Linked DNA regions of Homo sapiens: regions 2, 3, 4, 5, 6 and 7 are each linked to region 1. The links are contacts of gene promoters, found by promoter capture Hi-C in blood cells and fetal thymus (Javierre and others, 2016). All regions are on one chromosome and are shown on one strand. Each heading gives the region's core, a stretch centred on a gene start or on the middle of the fragment in contact. The rest is flanking DNA. Distances are from core to core; before and after follow the strand shown. Region 1 holds the start of SNX14 (sorting nexin 14). Region 2 overlaps RARS2 (arginyl-tRNA synthetase 2, mitochondrial). Region 3 overlaps RARS2 (arginyl-tRNA synthetase 2, mitochondrial). Region 4 overlaps RARS2 (arginyl-tRNA synthetase 2, mitochondrial). Region 5 overlaps SLC35A1 (solute carrier family 35 member A1). Region 6 overlaps CFAP206 (cilia and flagella associated protein 206). Region 7 overlaps CFAP206 (cilia and flagella associated protein 206).

Region 1 (2,863 bases), core at 130-2,629:
TGAAATTGTTTACTTTTATACACCACTGTGGAGTTGGTACCACCATTCTACAAAGCAGTTTGACTGTATCAAGAATGTTTGTTTTTACCCTTTGACCCAGTAATTGTATTAAAGTTGATTCTAAATAATTAGAAATGTGCATAGGTTTATCATCAAGGATGGTAATATCAATGGACTTTAGTGGTTAGCAATAATGGAACAGGATGGTACATTCTGATAAAGGATAATAATGCATCATTAAAGATCCATGTTTTTGTAATACGGGAAAATATTCATGAAACTACATACATCATTAAAAAACATTTGTTTCCCCACTTTGAAGGATAAGATCCTAGGAAAGAGAGATGACAGGCACAGGCTCTGTCTTTAGAACGTGTTCAAATTCCGGCTTTGTTAGTTTTATGATCCTAAGTTCCTTTCTGTCTCAGTAATTTGCCTGTATAATGATTGAAACTATAGTACTGTACCTACACCATGGGGTGAATGCATGAAGGTCAAATGAAAGTGCTTAGTGTCTGTACCGCCTAAGTAAATTTTCGCGATAATAGTCTTCCTGCATCTCTCACTGTAGCGGACAATACAGAAAAAAAAATTTAGAAATGTGATGAATTAGTAAAGGGAAAACCCCATGAGACTCTATAAGAGGGATTTTACCTAATCTGCCAACCTGCCTCTTCCAAGCACTCGGATTTTGGTTGGGCTCCCGGAGCCGGCGTGAATTGAGCTCTACCCTTGCCCGTGAGCGCGCAAAAGAGATTTTGTTGGTGGGGTGGCGGCCTGATGAGTTGTAGTCTTTATTCTAGGGCTGTTTTACTCGCCACCCCCCCAGCCCCCAACACACCCCTTTTAAAATACCGACTCAAAGGCGTCCTCCTATCCCCCTCTCCCTTAGGCGTCACGCAAAGCTCGGACCTGCTCCCACCCGGAGCCGAGTGTACGGTGAGGCGCGGAGCGTTGCGGGGTCGGGGAAGCGCTACCACCCGCTCCATCCCTCTGCGGGTTCGTGTCACGAAGACTACAGTTCCCAGCGGGCTCCACGAGCTCCGGTTGCCCCTCAGGCAGCGCCCGGCGGCTACGGGGGTGCTGTAGTTTCTTCCGGGCTCCCTACAACCTTCTTCCCTCTCCTCCGCAATACAGGCAGTTACTGGGTGCTGGGGCTGTCCTTTGATTTCCGGAAATGGCCGGTCGCCAGTGTTGTCAGAGTTTCCACGGAAGACTGCGCGCTACTCCGGCCAGGAGGGCGGAGCGGCGAGACGCTAGAGGCTTTGCGCTGGGTGACGACTTCGGGCACGTTCTACGGCCGTTCCTCTGGTCGGCTGGGGACCGCGGCCGCGCACGCGCGGCGGGGGGCGTGGGGCTGGGCCCAGCCGGACGCGACCTCAGCCTGCGGCGGCTAACTGCCGGTAGGCGTCTGTGTGCGCCGCCAAGTCGGTGGGGCGGGGACGCGAGGTGTGGATGGGGGGTCGCCTTGACCTCTGCCTCAGCCAGTAGCGCAGTCTCGGCCTCGCCGTTACGGAGATGGTGCCCTGGGTGCGGACGATGGGGCAGAAGCTGAAGCAGCGGCTGCGACTGGACGTGGGACGCGAGATCTGCCGCCAGTACCCGCTGTTCTGCTTCCTGCTGCTCTGTCTCAGCGCCGCCTCCCTGCTTCTTAACAGGTAACGCCGCAGCGCGGAGCCTGGGCGGCGGCTTTTCTCCGAAGGTGCAGACGCCCGGCCCGTGCTGCTTAACCGTGCGGAGGCCGCGTAGCTGCGGGACTGGGGACCAGTGGGGAGAGCGAGCTCCGCAGAGGAGCGGCCTCGGGGAGCACGGCGGAGCGTCGAGGCCGGAAGCACAGGCCGGTGGGGTGGGGTTGATTGCCTCCTTTCCCGAGGCTTCGTCTCCTGAGCTACCTTTTTCTCATCCATTTCTCAAAACGAGTTCTTCATCTTCGTTGCTTTTCAAAAGTGAAATCCGTGTGTCGGCTCAAATTGAGACTGTACACAGGCAGTCAAGTCAGCTGACGGAGGAGTGTTCAAGGTCCAGTTCGTAGCCGCAATTTTAGGCAGAATCCGCACACCTGCAGCGCGTTCTTCCATCTCCCCACCTCCCACCCCCTCAGCTTGCAGCTGAAGCTTTTCCCGCAGTATTGTTGAATAAAACAGACGATCATAAAGATTTGTTGGACAGAAATCAGAAAGCAAAGTGGTACCCGTCCCAACATCCTTAGAATTTTTTATTTTTGAGACGGAGTCTCGCTCTGTCACCCAGGCTGGAGTGCAGTGGTGCGGTCTCGGCTCACCGCAAGCTCCTCCTCCCGGGTTCACGCCATTCTCCTGCCTCAGCCTCCCGAGTAGCTGGGGCTACAGGCGCCCGCCACCACGCCACCACGCTACCACGCTAATTTTTTTGTATTTTTTTTTTTTTTTTTTAGTAGAGACGGGGTTTCACCGTTTTAGCCAGGATGGTCTCGATCTCCTGACCTCGTGAGCCGCCTGCCTCGGCCTCCCGAAGTGCTGGGATTACAGGCGTGAGCCACCGCACCCGGCCACATCCCTATAATATTCTTAAGAGGACTTGATGCCACCCTCCCCAAAAAAACCTGAAATATTCCGAAAGGTTAAAATTGATAAATTCAATTGACATTTTGAAATCAGAAGATTCTGCCCCCGAAATAAACTTGTTTTACTTCATTTTACTATTTCAAGAAATTGTTGCGATGCAATAGGTAGTAGAGGAGACTTTTCCATTAAAATTAACACCAGATTTGCTTTTGGTGGAAAGAAATCTGAGATAGTTCTCATTGACAGCATCCGCAAGCTGTTTTCTCTGATGTTTTGAACAGGCAACCATTCTTACTCTTTATCTTAAGGTAGTTGATTCC
Region 2 (2,863 bases), core at 112-2,611, 2.0 Mb before region 1:
CTTAGGTGTAGTGGCACACACCTGTGGTCCCAGCTGCTTGGGAAGCTGAGGTGGGAGGATCGTTTGGGCCCAGGTGGCTGAAACTAGCAAGCTTTGATTGCACCGCTGCACTTCAGCCTGGGGGACAAAGTGAGTCCCTGTCTCAAAAAAAAGAAAAAGATAAGTTGGAGAAACAAGAACTAATATATTGAGTATATATTTGTGCTAGTTACTACACATTCACATTTAAGCTCATGGCAACCCTGTGATATAGAAGTATTAACCTTATTATATAATTGAGTCAGTTGAGATCCACAGAGATTAAATAACTTACCCAAAGCCACATCATCAATACATTGTAGAGTTGGTTTATGAACAGAACTCTAACTTTAAAATTAGATCTTTCCTATATACTGTGCTCTTTGTGAAAGCAAGAAGCACAGTCCAATCATTGAACAGAATCTAATGGATTTATACAGCAGTGTAAATTATGCAGATATATATGTATTTCTCTGAATATAGAGTCATTGGGGAATGATCTGAAACTTGAGGATAAATAATAATATTTTCAATACGTTAGGACATGGGGAAAAAAGAGCAAAGAAAAAACATGTTCCGTACAGTTTGAGCATCCCTAAGCTGGAAATCTGAAATGCTCCAAAATTTGAAACTTTTTGAGTGCTGACATGAGACTCAATGTTCATTGAGTTCATTGGAGCTCAATTGGAAATTGGAAATGTTCATTGGAGAATTCCAGATTTTCAGATTAGGAGCTGGGTATGGTGGCTCATGCCTATAACCCCAGCACTTGGAGAGACTGAGACAGGCAGATCACTTGAGCCCAAGAGTTCAAGACCAGCCTGGGAAACTAATTAGAAAATTAGTTGGGCATGGTGGCACCCTCCTGTAATCCCAGATACTTGGGAGGCTGAGGTGGAAGGATCACTTGAACCTGAGAGGTGGAGGTTGCAATGAGCCAAGATTGTGCCACTGAACTCCAGCGTGGGTGGTAAAGCAAGACCCTGTCTCAAAAAATAAATAAATAAATAAATAAATAAATAAATAAATAAATAACCAACCCCACAGATTTTCAGTTTAGGGATGCTCAACAGGTAAGTATAAAGCCAATATTCCAAAATCTGAAAAAATTCAAAAGTTGAAACACTTGTGGTCCCAAGGATACCCAGCCTGTATTTAATACCTTTGCGAATGAGCATCGTTTTGCTATAATAGTTTAGGAATGAAGGAATGTGTAACGTGCAATGGCAAATGCATTTAGCTAACTTTGATTAATTAGTCGACAGTTTTCTAAGCACTGTCATCAGTCCCAAGGCTAAAAGTGAACGGAAAATAGTTTCTGCCCTGAAATGGCCTCAGACATGCTTGGAAAACGATGTAAACCGGTAATTGCATTGCAGCCTGTAATCACTGTATTAGAAGCATGTGCAAAGTGCCAAGGGAACTTGAAAGCTCCTAAGGGTCAGACAAAGTTTTGTAGAAAGGTGATGTTAGGTCTCAGTTTTGAAAGGGATATGGGTAGGAGTGTGCCAAGTAAATAGAGTGAGAGCTTGGGGAGAGGTCAGGTATTGCAAGAGGAGGATGTGCATAGACACAGACATCTGGAAAGCATGATATGTACATAGAATCACAATATTTGGATTCCTTTCTTCAGCAAGTCCTGTTGATTTTATCTTTATATCTTGAATCCATCTACACTATTGCTGCTGCCTCCCCCTCTCCTTTCTCTATTCCACACCAAGCCCCCATTATCACCTATATTGACTGCTTACAACAGCCTTCTGATGGGGTGTTTGTTTCCATTCTTGCCCTCCCTCCAGTTCATTCTCCATGTATCAAGAAAGGTGACATCTAAATTGTGAATCAAATCATATCACTTATCTTTCTTTGTTGCACGAGTCTCTACCAGAACCTTAACTTCTTCAACTTCCATTCATGCCCCATTCTATCATTTTTGTAGGAACCTAGCTACAATGTTAATTTGTTTTTCTAACATAGCAGGGTCTTTCCATTCCCATTGCGTAGATTATTCCTTGTGCCTAAAAGAAATGCATTTTATACTATCACTCTTTATGCACGATGAAAGTTTCATGAAACAATACTTATTTATACTGTATTCTGTCCTGTTTTATACGTATTTTTTAAGACTGGTGGTTGGGACTCAACAGAATTTATTTTTATTTTTATTTATTTATTTATTTATTTTGAGATGGAGTCTTGCTCAGTCGTCCGGGCTAGAGTGCAATGGCGTGATCTCTGCTCACTGCAAGCTCCGCCTCCTGGGTTCACGCCATTCTCCCACCTCAGCCTCCCGAGTAGCTGGGACTACAGGTGCCCGCCACCACACCCGGCTAAATTTTTTTGTATTTTTAGTAGAGACGGGGTTTCACCGTGTTAGCCAGGATGGTCTCGATCTCCTGACCTCATGATCCACCCATCTCAGCCTCCCAAAGTGCCGGGATTACAGGCGTGAGCCACCGCGCCAGGCAAAGGAATTTATTTCTAACTGGCAACCTATAATTTGAAAAGTGTGTCCTCTAGTTCTCTTAGTCCCTTGTTTGCTTCTATGATGACAATAATAAGAGTAATTGTTTTGTTTTACTTGTTTTAGTGTCTGTTTCCTCTATAAGCTTCATGAAGACAGAACATGTCTTATTCACTCTTATTTCCTCAGCACCAGCAAAGTGCCCGAAACATAAGTGTTTAATGTGTATTTGAAGAATGAATACCTGAGTATCTCTGTTGTGATCTCATATAAAATATGCAGCTTCACTGAATGAGTTCATAATTTTAAATCTATGGAGATGACGTGGTGTGGTGGCTAAAGGAACTCCATCTTGGATGCTAATCTGCCATGTTGACTTTT
Region 3 (2,863 bases), core at 103-2,602, 1.9 Mb before region 1:
TGTTGCTGAGGCTGTACAATATTTTAAATATTTCAGGGGAATCTGTCTTCAAACTCCACAGAAACCTAAGAATATATTTCTTTCTATGCAGTTTAATATAATTTCCTGCCTTTAGAGACTCAAAAATAGTGGAAGATCAACATCTATGTTAGAGGTTATTTACTGATGGGTACACATATGGAAGGAATAAGGGCAATAAGGTACTTCTGTGAATAACTAAAAAGTCGAATAATAATGGTGTTGCTTTCATTAGTGTTCTTTTGCCGAATAGATTCACTGGGAAACTGCATTTAAAGACAAAAGAAGGCAAGATACACCCACTTTGCTATTTGTAATAGACGACAAGACCATTAGAGTATTCAGTTGCTCTTTTCCTTCTCCTTTTGCAGGACAGAAAATATGCAAAGCCTAAAATGGCAGCCTACAGGTTATTATATATGCAAATTTTATAGACTCTGTTTTCATTTTAAAATTACATTTGTCACTTTGGATTACTTTCAAAAACAACTGTTAGCATAAATGAGGAATTTTTTTGAGCTTTAAGCAAATGTTGATGTTATTCTGTTTCTAAAAGAAAATCTGAATGTCAACAACTCAATTTATTTAATAATTGAAAGATGCCTTTGCTTGCCCTGCAATGTCACAAATAGCGTAGGTGGTAATACAGAGACTCTGCCCCATCGTTATTTCTGGTCACCAGAAAGGTGACCAGAAAGTCAGAGATCGTGATTCTATGCTTGGAAAGTGCTTGGTGTATTGGTAAATAATGTTGGCTGATTTATTCGAAGGAAAACTTTAAGATAATCTGCATTTACTCTTTCTTATTTGTGAAAATCTGTTTTCTCAAAGCTTTGATGGAACCCTTGTTTTTTTTCCATATCAAGTTGTAGTTAGTAGTGAGCTCTTTGAGAGGAAGGACCATGTCTTCCTTACCTTCCTTATCCACAACCCTAAATATTATGGCTTGCAGTAAATGCCTGAATGAATTTGCTTTTATAGTTCTCTTTTGCCCCCTTTTCTAATTATATATAATTTGTGGAATATAAAATGTATTGTTTGTCCAGGAAATAAGTAACTATTATAGGATACACTAATTACCATTTGTCAGAATTTAACTTACTTTGTTAACATAGTTTACTGCAGAGGAAACCACAGGCCAAACCCAGGATTCCGGCACAGGTAGTCTGGCTCCTGAGTGCTCTATGCAGTGAATGTCCCCACACCCCCACTATAGAATGGCTTTATGAACCATTGATTTCCATTGGTTTAATTATGTACATAGAATTTTCCTTTCTTTCATCCCTTGAGTTGCTATACCAGGGACACAATTAGTAGTTTAGTTTTGGCACTTTCAACCTTCTGGCATATTTGTTTTGAATTTGGCATAGGCCATCCAGTAGCAGATTTTATGGCCTGCCTTCCTCTAAATTGAACTATGATCAGTATTCTCTAAATTGCACTATAATCAGTATTAGTATATTCAGTTTCTCAGCTAGCTTGGAAATGATATTGTATGATAGTTTCAGAATTTCTTTGATGAAAATATTTAACACCCACAGTCATTTATTGCATTTCCATTTTGGTGCATATGCTTCACTAGTGGTTTTTCTCTGTACCTTATAGCATTCTTTTCCCATGACATCTAGCTGTTTTGTACGTGGGACCTAGGATTTTGTTGGCAAGCATTTGAAACTTTTTCTTTAATTATTCTAATTTGGTTTTTTTGGTTACAAAACAGGGAAGTAGTTTTGTTATAGTTCCTCTTCCCTTGTGAATTGGCTGTTAAATAACTAATATATTTTTTTTATTTAGAATTCACATTAGTGATTCAGGAAAACATTTGCAATAAGCTTTAGACAATATATCAAAAAGCCTTTCCACTTATATTGAAAAGTAATTTCTTTTTTTTTCTTTCTTTTTTTTTTTTTCGTGATGGGGTCTTGCCCTGTTGCCCAGGCTGGAGTGCAGTGGCGTGATCTCAGCTCACTGCAACCTCTGCCTCCCGGGTTCAAATGATTCTCCTGCCTCAGCCTCCTGAGTAGCTGGGATTACAGGTGTGCACTACCACGCCCAGCTAATTTTTTTGTATTTTTGCTAGAGACGGGGTTTCACCATGTTGGCCAGGCTGGTCTCAAACTCCTGACCTTGTGATCCGCCCACCTTGGCCTCACAAAATGCTGGGATTACAGGTGTGAGCCACCACGCCCAGGCAAAAAGTAATTTCTTATGGTAAAAGTTAACAAGTGTTAAATCTGAATCATGGATATGAGGGTGTCATCATTTACTTTTACCTATTTAAATAATACTTTTAAAGGTAACTTATCAGGCTTCCTTTTAGATTTAAATTATTTGAATAGACTTTATTATCTAACAGTATCTCTAAGCATATTAACCTTTTTTTTTGCTATAGAAGGTTTTATTAATAGAACTTGACTCATTGCATATTGCCTATTAATATGGCTTTTGTAACCATAGCCATTCTTATGAAATGTAAGGGCAGCCTCTTATAAGAGATAAATATCATGCCAATAAAATATGGATTAGCCTGTATCCTAGCACTGACATTAAAAAAGGTTACATAGGCCAGGTGCAGTGGCTCACACCTGCAATCCTAGCACTTTGGGAGGCTGAGGCAGGTGGATTGCCTGAGCTCAAAAGTTTGAGACCAGCCTCAGCAACGTGGCAAAACTGCATCTCTACTTAAAAAAAAAAATACAAATAATTAGCTGGGCATGGTGATGCATGCTTGTAATCCCAGCTACTCAGGAGGCCGAGGGACGAGAATCGCTTGAACCCAGGAGGTGGAGGTTGCAGTGAGCTGAGATCACACCACTGCACTCCAGCCTGGGCAACAGAGCGAGAC
Region 4 (2,863 bases), core at 1-2,500, 1.9 Mb before region 1:
CCTCGGCCTCCCAAAGTGCTGGGATTACAGGCGTGAGCCACTGCGCCCTGCGAAATCATAATCTTAAGAATTGCCCACCTCTTAGTAGTAGAATAGGGCCAAGATCTAAAGCTTGAGTTTTGAATTCCAGTTTCAACTTCACAATTTTGAATACATCCTTTAATGGTTCTGGGCTTTATTAAGTTGAAGGAGTAAGATTAGATATCAAGCTCATATCTTACAACAGGAAATTACTGCTGGTACTATCGTGATTTCTCTCTTCCTGTTTCAGTCATCTTGCAGCTGTGGCACACAAAACACTACAAATAAAAGATAGTCCTCCTGAAGTGGCTGGGGTACGTTATGTTGAATGTTTTCTGTATAATCCCTAGCTCCTGAGACTAATATTACTAAGTCAGTCTTGTAAATTTTTCTAAAATAGCATTCTGTTGTTCAACTGTAGCAGTATACTTCCTTAGCTAATAATTAGGCTGTAACAATCAATGTGTATATACTTCCCAACATACTAGACTATAAAGCACATTTTCCTACATGAAATATTACAGTGATAAGTTCCCCTTATCTGAAGCCATACTGTATAATACTATCACTCCCACTCCATGACACTTTATGTACAGGTTTTACTGTAAGGGATGCCAGGAATTTATCTTCTCTTGCCTATAGTAACTCTAGGGCACTTTGACATATTGTTCCTGCTTTAAACTAGAAAGAATAACCTTTAAAACCATTCTCATGTATTGAATACATTCCTGTTACTGAATATTTTAAATCATTCTTTGATTTATTTTGTAGGCCAGACTTCATCTTTTCAAAGCTGTCCGTTCTGTCCTAGCCAATGGAATGAAACTTCTTGGAATAACACCTGTATGTAGGATGTAATTTCCATTAAAATGGCTTTTAAAATGTCAAGTGAATTCTAGTTATCTATTCTGAGATGCCTTGCTGTTCAGAATAAATTTAAATTTTTTTTTTTTTTTTTTGAGATGGAGTTTCGCTCTTGTTGCCCAGGCTGGAGTGCAATGGTGTGATGTTGGCTCACTGCAACCTCCACCTCCCAGGTTCAAGCAATTCTCCTGCCTCAGCCTCCTGAGTAGCTGGGATTACAGGCACGTGCCATCACGCCAGGCTAATTTTGTATTTTTAGTAGAGACAGGGTTTCTCTATGTTGGTCAGGCTGGTCTTGCACTCCCGACCTCAGGTTATCTGTCTGCCTTGGCCTCCCAAAGTGTTGGGATTAGAGGCATGAACCACCACGCCCAGCCAAAGTTAAACTATTATTCTGTGTCAGAATCTGTATTAAATGTGACTTGTCAAGTTATTCAGTCTTTATCCTTAAATAAATGAGTTATCTGAATTCTCTCATGGTCAGTAGGTATTTAAATAGACATTGAGTTTTTTAAACCCAAAGCATTGTGGTCTAATGGGGCTAAAGGATTTGAGTTTAAACTTTGGCTTGAAGTTTCTTACCATGTCATTCTTCCAGAAACTATTCTTATAACTGAAATGATTTAATGTTTTCATGAAATAAAAGAATTGGTGAGGGGAAAATATTATCAATTTTCTTGTAATTGTGGCTAGTTTGGAGTAAACATAGGGAGATCAAAAATAAGCACCGTTCTGTCAATATAGCTGACAGCTACTCCTAGAGACAATAGACCTCGTGCTTCCCTTTGAGTTAATATATACAGGGCTGGGCGTGGTGGCTCATGCCTATAATCCCAGCACTTTGGGAGGCTGCGGCGGGCAAATCACGAGATCAGTAGATCGAGACCATCCTGGCTAACACGGTGAAACCCCGTATCTACTAAAAATACAAAAAAAGTAGCCAGGCGTGGTGGCGGGGCCTGTAGTCCCAGTTACTCGGGAGGCTAAGGCAGGAGAATGGCGTGAACCCAGGAGGCGGAACTTGCAGTGAGCCGAGATCGCACCACTGCACTCCAGCCTGAGCGACAGGGCGAGATTCTGTCTCAAAAAAAATAAATAAAAAATATATATATATATATATATATATATACACACACACACACAGGTAACTCTTATTGTGTGAATTCAGGAACTAAATACATTTTAATAGGAAGGAATTACTTGTAAAGACGTTGAATTAGGATCTTTTTGTAAAATGTAGTCCATTAATTCAACCATAATTTGAAATGGAGTTTCTTATGGTTTCCTTCATGTATCTATCTTCATATTTTTGTGTGGCTTCATTAGATAACATGAGCATGGCTTAGGAAACAAGAGTAGGATGTGATGTGTTTGATCAGTACGGCCATTCCCATCAGCCAGCATTTCCATTCAGGTCTGCTATAATTTATTCTAAATGTTGCTAATAGTAGGCTTTTGAATACCAGTGACGGTCTATTTACCAAGTTAGCACAACTGAAGCTTCTCTAGTTAGAGTGAAAATTGTTTCATATTAGCAACTATGGCTTACCTTCTTAGTCCTAGAAAAGATTCAGCCTTGCAGTTCCAATTTAAGTGAATTAGCTCCCAGATAGCTAATTTTCGACTTAAAGTAGTGTCACATTTTTCTTAGCATAAACCAGCCATGGGATAAAAATATAAAGTAGGGACATGTTTTACACATCCAATATCCCTCTCTACTTGTTTGAAGAAACTTTCCCCTTCCAAGATCAGTAGTGTCTTCCCGAGTATTTGAATCGTGAGTGAAACCATACAGGAACAGTAATAGGTAAAGCCAGATCTTTACAAAAGCTGAAAAGACAACTGTCCATTAATTCTTAGAACCTAGACGCCTGTAGCCCTGATTGTGGACCTTCTTAAAAATTCTTTCTTTTTTGCTTAAGGCTTGCCAGAGTTGAGTTGATTTGCAGCCAGAGAACCCTAACCGATAGACTTCCAC
Region 5 (2,863 bases), core at 195-2,694, 1.9 Mb before region 1:
TTTACACGATCATTGTTTTTTAACAATGTCTTCCAATTCCATGAGATTAAATACTTTTATGTGATAAGAACTCCCAAATTTATATCTCTAGCCCAGACCTCTCTTCTGAGTTCCAGACCCATTTAATCCAACTGCCCATTTGGATGTCTCAAGACATTAAAAACTTTAAATTATACCTACCCAAAATCAAACTGTTGATATCTTTTTCCCCCAAATCTGTTTTTCCTGTTTCAAAAAACAAAAATAATAATAACTCTACCCAATTGTTTATACTAGGAAACACAGATATGCTTCCTGATACCTCCCTTTCCTTCCCCTACTATAGTTGATTATTATTATTCATGGACTGTACGTGTGAATTCTCCACTCATTAAAATGTATCTGTAACCCCCAAATCAATGCTGGTAACACTTGCAGTCATTGGCAGACATGTGCAGAGTGGCAAAAAATTTGATTCACCAAGTGTGCACATTCCTGGCTGACGCTGAACAAGTTAACATTCTGCCTTGTTTCCGCTTTCAGATCATAAACAAGTGCAATCTATTCAGTACCACATTTTTTGCATTTTTGTGCTTTGTGTTGGTGATTTTGTTTAAATGGCTCCCAAGCATTGTAGGGCTGACGCACTGTCTGATGTTCCTAAGTATAAGAAGGATATGCTATATATTATGGAGAAAATACATGTGATAGATAAGCTTTGTTCAGGCATGTTATAGTGCTGTTGGCCATGAGTTCAATGCTAATTAATCAATAATGTACATTAAATAAAGTGTCTTTAGATTGAAGCACACACAAAACAAGGTTATTGTATTGATTAATTGACAAAAATGTGATCAGTTGCTCACAGGAAACTACCCTGTATATCCCCTAGGAGCAGGTTATCCAAACCCATCACGAAGTCCTACAGATTCTACTGCCAGAGCATAACTCAAATCCATTAACTTCTCTTCGTGACCTGTGCTGTCATCCTAGCTGATTATCTCTTGCCTCTATTGTTTCCCTACTTCTAATTCATTCTCAAAGAGGTCAAAGTGACTCTCAACATGGGTTCTATGTTAGTCCCTCACTTAAACCATTTAATGACTTTCTTTTTCTTTTTTTTCTTTTGAGACGGAGTCTTGCTCTGTCACCCAGGCTGGAGTGCAGTGGTGTGATCTCAGCTCACTACAACCTCTGCCTCCCAAGTTCAAGCAATTCTCCTGCCTCAGCCTCCCAAGTAGCTAGAATACAGGCATGTGCCACCACGCCCAGCTAATTTTTGTATTTTTAGTAGAGATGGGGTTTTACCATGTTGGCCAGGCTGGTCTTGAACTCCTGACCTCAAGTGATCCACCTGCCTCAGCCTCCCAAAGTGCTGAGATTATAGGTGTGAGCCACCGCACCTGGCTCCACTCAATGATTTTTCTAATGCACTTCAGATTAAATCTAAAATCCTTAACAGGTCCATACTACTACTGTGATACCCTGATGACCTCTCCTGCTTCATCTCAGCACCAAAGTCAAGGACTTTTCTGCCTCAGGGATTTCAAACACGCAGTTCTCTGCCTCCTCTCTGCTCTTTTCTTGCCTAAAGTCTACTCAATTGACAGGTCTAGGTTTAAACGTAACTTCCTCAGAGAGGAAACCCTTTAATCCAAATGCAGGCCCTCTATCATGCATGTTTGTAGCACCCTCTACTTTTCCCTCATAACATCACCTATTTATTATTTATTATAATATTTGGTTCTCCAACAGACTATAAGTCCATGAGGGCAGAACTACACCTTTTTAATTTGCAGTGTTCTAGTGAAAACACTAGAATAGTGTTGAGTATATAATTGAGGTTTGATAGGTATTTTCTAACTAAATAAATGAATGCGTGAACCTGACTGTCCCATTATATCTTATTAACAATACCTTGAAACAACTTAGAATGACTATTTGCTTCCAATGTTTGGAAGGAATGAAACACAGATTTGAATATGGCAGTGGTATGTTATTATCTAAGTGAACCTTAATTATAACCAAAACATGGTTTCAGGTGCTACTTCGATAAGTTTCTGCCCCCACCTCCCACTCCCGTATAATATATGTACTTTAACAATTAGCCAAGACTATTCACTAAGCAAAGAACATTACTGAGCAAACAGCATCAGAGACCATACTAAATAAACAAACCACCAAATGGACTGCTCTATAATGAGATTAAGCTTTGCACAGTTCCAAAAAAATTGAAGTTCTAGTATAATACTTTGTATCAACCCTATAAAGTTATTGTACTTTATCACAGTGTAAAGAATGGGCAAAAAGGAAGAAGCTTTTACTTCATTTAATCATAGTTTTAAATGAAGTTTAATTTTTTTCCATTTAAATAGTAATTTCTTTTCCTTTCCCTGTATTCATTCTCCAGAAAACTCAAATCAACATTGAGCAAATGTTACTAATTTTTACACTAACTCTGCAGTATTTTTCTGGAAATATGGGGGAAATACACTATTTTAATCATCAGGATCTAAGTTCTTCTAATTTTTTTTTTTCTTTTTCTGAGACAGAGTTTTGCTCTGTTGCCCAGGCTAGAGTACAGTGGTACAATCATGGCTCACTGCAGGTCCTCGCAGGCTCAAGCAATCCTCCCACCTTAGCCTCCCAGGTAGCTGTGACTACAGCCACACACCACTACACCCAGCTAATTTTTTTATTTTTTGTAGAGATGGAGTCTCACCATGTTGACAGGCTGGTCTCCAACTCCTGGGCTCAAGAAATCCTCCTACCTTGGCCTCTAAACTGCTGGGATTACAGGTGTGAGCCACCACACCTGGCCAAGATCTAAGTTCTTCTTAATTTTTCTCCTCTGAAGAGAAAGTTCAAGTTCTAAACCTTTAGT
Region 6 (2,863 bases), core at 243-2,742, 1.9 Mb before region 1:
GCTGGCCAAGTGTTAGCAGATATTCTGATTTCTTCTTTTTTTGAAGGGCCAGAAATACAAATTTTATGTCAAATTTCTACATTTTGAAAAACACCATGTGAGGTGGGCATGGTGGCTTATGCCTATAATCCCATCACTTTGGGAGGCTGAGGCAAAAGGATCTCTTGAGCCCAGGAGTTCCAGACCCGCCAGGGGAATATGGTGAAACTCTGTCTCTACAGAAAATTGTTTTAAAAATTAGTCAGGTGTGGTAACACACGCCTGTGGTCCCAGCTACTCAGGAGGCTAAGGTAGGATTGCTTTAGCCCAGGAGGTCGAGGCTGCAGTGAGCTGTGATTGTACCACTACATTCCAGCCTAGGTGACAGAGCAAAACCCTGTCTCAAAAAAAAAAAAAAAAAAAAAAGAAAGAAAAAAACATCATGTGGACCTTTGCTCCAATTGTTCCAAATTAGTAAGGTTTTGTTACATATCAGTTTAATCCATGTTAACATTTAATAGCTAACAGAGCTGAAAATATTGATTAGGTTTTAAGTTTGTAACGTTTAACATTAAATATGGTTTAGAAATAGACTTCTATTCCAGTAATAATCTTATATTTATATCTAAATGTTATCATAATTTCAATCTTAATGCTGACAAATTTTTCTAACAAATAAAAGATAAATGGACAGTTTTATTTTTCAATTTCAACAGAATGAAAAATGTGTTACAGAAAACAGTTTGATAAAATATGGGAACCCAATAAACAGTCACACAACCAATGAATGTGCCACCCCTACAAAATTAATTTGTATAGATGTTAATATACCTTTAAGTACTTGCTATTGTTCATAATTGAGTAGCATCTATTTTAAAACGTTGTCTGTAATTAGGTTTCATCCACATCTCTAGTTAAGTTCACCTTGACCTCATCGGTGATTTCGCTCTTTCCTCCACGAAGACCAGCCAAGTAAATCTGAGGCCTGGGCACCCCAGTGCTGTCTTCCCTCATGGACTGGGTGCTAGTGTCCTTTGGAGGGTACACTTGGGAACAATTTTCTCTTCTCAAGTGACTAAGATCAGTTTGTACTGAGTGAGTAACTTTCTGGCGCAAATTAGCCTAAAGAGAAAGAGAATACAGGAATTAACATTTCTCTAAAGAACAAATAACATAAAATATTATCAGATACCAGTTAATATCTGCCTATTTTTGTCTTCAATCCACAAGAAATTAATTCCATAACATAGCATTTTTTCTATAAAACATTGGAAAATCTAGAACATAATAGAAAATTAAATATCCCTTACCAAGACGTAGAAAAATATGTAAAATGTTGAAAATTGACCTCAAAAAACATACAGATTCAAAATTACAGTGAACTCAACCAGTTATTTATTAATATAATCTAATTCCTTCATTATTATACTTTGAGATTCATATAACTTGGATTTTTCCACTATACTTGTTTTCTTTTAACAAAAATATAAGATTTATACAGTATTATCTTTTAAAAATGGACTTCACCCTAGATTTTTAACATAAAAGAGTCTGATGCTTTCCATTTTGTATTTTACAGTATTCTACATTTTGCTTACTCCCTTTATAGATTATTAGTAAACATGAGGTTAAACAGATTACTCAGGCTGGGAAGCAAGGAGGAGCTTATAAAAAGAAGAATAAGGTTGCTGCACTTATAGTAAAAGCCAAGAAAAAACTCAAAAGGCATTATAGCATGTGAGTGAAGAAGGTGACACCTGGAATTAGAGGAAACATTTCAGAGTTTGAGATACTGCAGGTGACTGAGAACCGAAACTACTCCCCAATACCCAGGTTATTGTCCACATTAATATGACTTTACTATTCCATTGTCTTCATTAGCATGATTTTACCATTCCAAGAGACTCTTGCCTAAGCAAATAACTTGATTGCTCATTTCAGTAGTACCTGAGAGATGTGTCAACTCTTCAGTAGTAAGCATCAAAACACAGTTTCAGTCCTAAGAGTCTGCATCCCTTGCCTCAAAAAATCTTCTTGCTATTCCCACCAATGCTGGACTGCTTTTTCATGATCCTTACCCAATCCGATTCAAACCTCCATCCTACCCCCAGTCCACCTCAGTCATTGGAAGACCTGCCTTAGCAAACTTCAAATTCTCAATCAATTCTGACTTTGCAGTTCCTCTTCTGAGACACTGCCAAAGCACTGTTGAGGTGGTGTTTTCCCTTATGGCTGTAAGCAATAAACTCAGCTTTGTCTTATCCACAGGTTAGGTAGGTGACACTTGGGGAGCTGGCATTCAATATAATACAGTTCTAGGGAATAATAAGGCCCAAGGTGAGAGTCAGAATTAAGTGGAGATTGAGGAATGGGAAGAGAGGGCTCAGTCAGTATGAAGTTCAGACCCCTGAATACCCCATTCTCTTAACATTTCCAGTCCATACCTATGCTGTCACCTCTATCTCTCCTATCCTATCCAGCCATCACTTCCCTCCTCCTCTTTGCCTATTTGTATCTCAAAAGCAACATAAAATATCACCTATGTTAATTTAGTAGAATTTTCATTTCACTTCTGTTACACCACTTACAAGGAGGTACCACTTACAAGGAGGTACTGAAATATTTTTAATGTAACAGTATCACTTGCTAGAACAAAGTAGTGGGATATATATGTTACCCAATAAATCTAATGAACTCAAGTGAGTTTAGTAGATAATAGAAAATAATATGGGGGTTGGGCATTTCATGAACTACAGGAGAGTAACTGATAGGAAGGAATACTAATGGAACAATGATCTGGAAGATATATGGGGAAACTGATCCTTCCTCATGCCAGGGAACTGAAAAGCTGCCACCAGAGTGAGTAGCAAAGGAAATAATGTGG
Region 7 (2,863 bases), core at 208-2,707, 1.8 Mb before region 1:
CTTAGCTGAAACACAGTATGAAATTTTTTAAGTATAAAAATAGGTAGTATACATTACCTCGATTCGTATAATTCATATCGAAGTAGACTTGCATCTTAATAGTGTCCAGGGATGGATTTTTAGTATCCAATAGCCGAGTCATACAAAGCTAGAAAAGAATGTCCCATGAATACTTCTAGTTATAGTTTTTGAGACAGTCAAGTATTTCCTAAAGTTATTTTCAAAAATAAAGGGAAAAGCAGTGGTTCCTGATATTGATTCACCAATAACCCCTTTTATTTTTTTTTTCTCCTTGAGGACTTCAGGCTTTATAGTTTATTTAACCAATAACTTTTTTTATTTTTATAGATTTAGGGGGTACAAGTGTCATTTTGTTACATGGATATATTGCGTGTAGTGGTGAAGCCTGGGCTTTTAGGGTAGCTAACACCTGAATAGTGGACATTGTACCCATTAAGTGATTTCTTATCCCTCGCTCCCCTCTCACCCTCCCAAGTCTTCAATGTCTACTGTTCCACTCTCTATGTCCCTGGGTACATATTATTGAGCTCCCACTTATAAGTGAGAACATGTGGTATTTTACTTTCTGAGTTATTTCACTTAAGATAGTAGCCTCCAGTTCCATCCATGTTGCCACAAGACATGATTTCATTATTTTTTATGGCTCAATAAAACTCCATTGTGTGTATGTGTGTATACATTTTCTTTATCCAATCATCTGTTGATGGACACTTAGGTTGATTCCATATCTTTACTACCAATAACATTTGTTAAGTAATAAGTTATTTCCCTTGAGTTAACCAATAATCATCATGCCAGGTGGCTAGTAGTCTAGTTGAAGGCAAGAAACCTGATGTTTTGGTTAGTTTGAGCAGTCTAAATGTGGGTAAATGTTCCACAAAGCTTATATTCCAGTCTAAAACTCTTCTAGAGTTCCTCATTACTATTTATTTGTGCCTTGAACAACACTCCTCATTTTATTTTATAAAAAGCTGCTGCAGCTGGTGCAGTGGCTCACACCCGTAATCCCAGCATTTTGGGAGGCAGAGGTGGGCAGATCACCCGATGTCAGGAGTTCGAGACCAGCCTGGTCAACATGGTGAAACCCGTCTCTACTAAAAATACAACAATTAGCCAGGCATGGTGGCACACACCTGTAGTCCCAGCTACTCGGGAGGCTGAGACAGGAGAATCGCTTGAGAACCCGGGAGGTGGACATGGCAATGAGCCAAGATCATGCCACCGCACCCCAGCTTGGGGGACAGAGCGAGACTCTGTCTCAAAAAATAAAATATAATTAAATTAAATTAAATTAAAATTAAAAAGCTGCTGCAACCACCCCCCTCTCTTCACAAAATTTCTCTGGTTCTACCCTTGATATTTCTTCTCCTGGTCTGTTTTCTCCTATGAGCCCCCACATAGATGGCTCATTCCCCTTCTCTGCCTTGCCTCTTTATATTGAATATCAACCTCAGTTTTTCTTTCCTTCTCTCATCTCTACTGGTCACCTCCCTCCCCCACTTCCTTCACTGCTCACTCTGTAGGCTGAATATACTGCAGCTGGCAGGCACTTGGCAGCATCACTCTCAACCCATCTCCCTGAGCACCAGCCCTGCTTTCCTGGGAGGAGGGAGGGGAGAATGCAAGACTGAGGATTGGACACTATGTCTTTGCAGAAGCCTGTGCACCTGGATCCCTCCACATACAGAAGTACTGTTCTAAAATGCACACTTAAAAAAATAGCTCATCCACATGATTTTTAGTTGAGAAAAAAATTGTCACTTGAATATAACATATGTTGTTAGTTTATGTACCTGTCGTACTAAAAGTATATTGGCTTGATTCTTTCCAACTTAGTTGAGTTGGGGAATTGGGGGGAATGGAAAACTCTTCTTGGGTCATGACAAGGAGAACAACTTATTTTCTGCCCCTCCTGGATTCTCTTCCACGGCTTTCCAATAAAATTTCTGACTGCCACAATCACTTCCCCTATTGCTAAGAACAAGCTTTATACCATCTTTTCTCTGCATCCTCACCAATATCTGTTATGTTTTTACTTTTTAAAGATATTCTAACTGGTGTAAGATTGTATCTCATTGTCAGAATAGAAAATCCAGACACAAAGCCACATACCTGCAGTCAGGTGATCTTTGACAAAGTCAACAGAAACATACACTGGAGAAATGACATCCTATTCAATAAATGGTGCTGGGAAAATTGGATTACCATATGCAGAAGAATGAAACCCATCCCAATGTCTCACCATATACAAAAATTAACAACTCAAGATTGATTAAAGACTTAAATGTAAGACCTGAAACTATAAAAATAACAGAAAAAAACCTAGGGGGCTGGGCATTGGCCTACGCAAAGAATTCATGACTTAAAAGTAAATGCAACAGAAATAGACAAATTGGATTTAAATAAACTAAAAAGCTTCTACACATCAAAATGAATAATCAACAGAGTGAAAAGACAGCCTGCAGAATGGGAGAAAATATGTACAAACTATGCATCTGACAAAGGACTAATATTCAGGATCTACGAGGAACTCAAACAACTCGACAACAACAAATAACCCCATTATAAAGTGGGCAAAGGCCATGAATAGATATTTTTCAAAAGAAGACATACAAATCGCCAAAAAGCATGAAAAAAATGCTCAACATCACTCAGCATTAGAGAAATGCAAATTAATTTAGTTCTATTTAACTTCACAGTATATGACGAACTAGTTAATGTTTGCAATGTAAGACATTAGTAACAAGGTTTCACTAAAATACTGTAGCAGATGCTGCTACCTGCCCAATTTCCCTGCCCTTCCTTCCTTACTAACAGAGCCTCAATTTGGATTGGGGCAAGG

Evidence for each region. The method cuts DNA at HindIII sites, captures the fragments that hold promoters and counts their contacts. A CHiCAGO score of 5 or more calls a contact.
Region 2: a fragment that was not itself captured here is called in contact with the fragment with the promoter of SNX14 in region 1 in 3 of 17 cell types (naive CD8 T cells, activated CD4 T cells and naive CD4 T cells); the score reaches 7.9 in naive CD8 T cells.
Region 3: a fragment that was not itself captured here is called in contact with the fragment with the promoter of SNX14 in region 1 in 2 of 17 cell types (activated CD4 T cells and monocytes); the score reaches 8.9 in activated CD4 T cells.
Region 4: a fragment that was not itself captured here is called in contact with the fragment with the promoter of SNX14 in region 1 in 2 of 17 cell types (naive CD8 T cells and M0 macrophages); the score reaches 5.6 in naive CD8 T cells.
Region 5: a fragment that was not itself captured here is called in contact with the fragment with the promoter of SNX14 in region 1 in 6 of 17 cell types (non-activated CD4 T cells, activated CD4 T cells, M2 macrophages and 3 more); the score reaches 12.1 in non-activated CD4 T cells.
Region 6: a contact is called between a fragment that was not itself captured here and the fragment with the promoter of SNX14 in region 1, in 1 of 17 cell types (monocytes). The highest score is 5.5, in monocytes.
Region 7: a contact is called between a fragment that was not itself captured here and the fragment with the promoter of SNX14 in region 1, in 5 of 17 cell types (total B cells, naive CD8 T cells, total CD8 T cells and 2 more). The highest score is 7.7, in total B cells.

Annotation. Positions count from the first base shown.
Region 1 is chr6:85,592,374-85,595,236 of GRCh38, reverse strand. It overlaps SNX14 (sorting nexin 14), which reads left to right and starts at 1,379. Exons shown (of 29, transcript NM_153816.6): 1 at 1,379-1,658. The coding sequence starts at 1,519. RefSeq lists enhancers at 1,087-1,206, 1,517-1,686, 1,135-1,718, 1,719-2,302, 2,303-2,863 and a silencer at 1,237-1,456. The HindIII fragment of the contact is 2,215 bases long and covers 1-2,116 here.
Region 2 is chr6:87,585,072-87,587,934 of GRCh38, reverse strand. The region is part of intron 1 of RARS2 (arginyl-tRNA synthetase 2, mitochondrial); the gene reads left to right. Among named protein-coding and RNA genes, the nearest start is that of RARS2, 3.5 kb to the left of the region's middle. The HindIII fragment of the contact is 2,536 bases long and covers 94-2,629 here.
Region 3 is chr6:87,535,703-87,538,565 of GRCh38, reverse strand. The region is part of intron 8 of RARS2 (arginyl-tRNA synthetase 2, mitochondrial); the gene reads left to right. Among named protein-coding and RNA genes, the nearest start is that of RARS2, 53 kb to the left of the region's middle. The HindIII fragment of the contact is 1,001 bases long and covers 852-1,852 here.
Region 4 is chr6:87,512,429-87,515,291 of GRCh38, reverse strand. It overlaps RARS2 (arginyl-tRNA synthetase 2, mitochondrial), which reads left to right. Exons shown (of 20, transcript NM_020320.5): 19 at 272-335; 20 at 793-1,354. The coding sequence ends at 879. Among named protein-coding and RNA genes, the nearest start is that of SLC35A1, 41 kb to the right of the region's middle. The HindIII fragment of the contact is 2,274 bases long and covers 114-2,387 here.
Region 5 is chr6:87,485,420-87,488,282 of GRCh38, reverse strand. All of the region lies in intron 2 of SLC35A1 (solute carrier family 35 member A1), which reads right to left. Among named protein-coding and RNA genes, the nearest start is that of SLC35A1, 14 kb to the right of the region's middle. The HindIII fragment of the contact is 1,494 bases long and covers 698-2,191 here.
Region 6 is chr6:87,462,258-87,465,120 of GRCh38, reverse strand. CFAP206 (cilia and flagella associated protein 206) reads right to left here. Exons shown (of 13, transcript NM_001031743.3): 13 at 656-1,101. The coding sequence ends at 871. Among named protein-coding and RNA genes, the nearest start is that of SLC35A1, 9.3 kb to the left of the region's middle. The HindIII fragment of the contact is 3,443 bases long and covers 1-2,863 here.
Region 7 is chr6:87,411,095-87,413,957 of GRCh38, reverse strand. It overlaps CFAP206 (cilia and flagella associated protein 206), which reads right to left. Exons shown (of 13, transcript NM_001031743.3): 4 at 58-148. Among named protein-coding and RNA genes, the nearest start is that of CFAP206, 4.6 kb to the right of the region's middle. The HindIII fragment of the contact is 1,103 bases long and covers 906-2,008 here.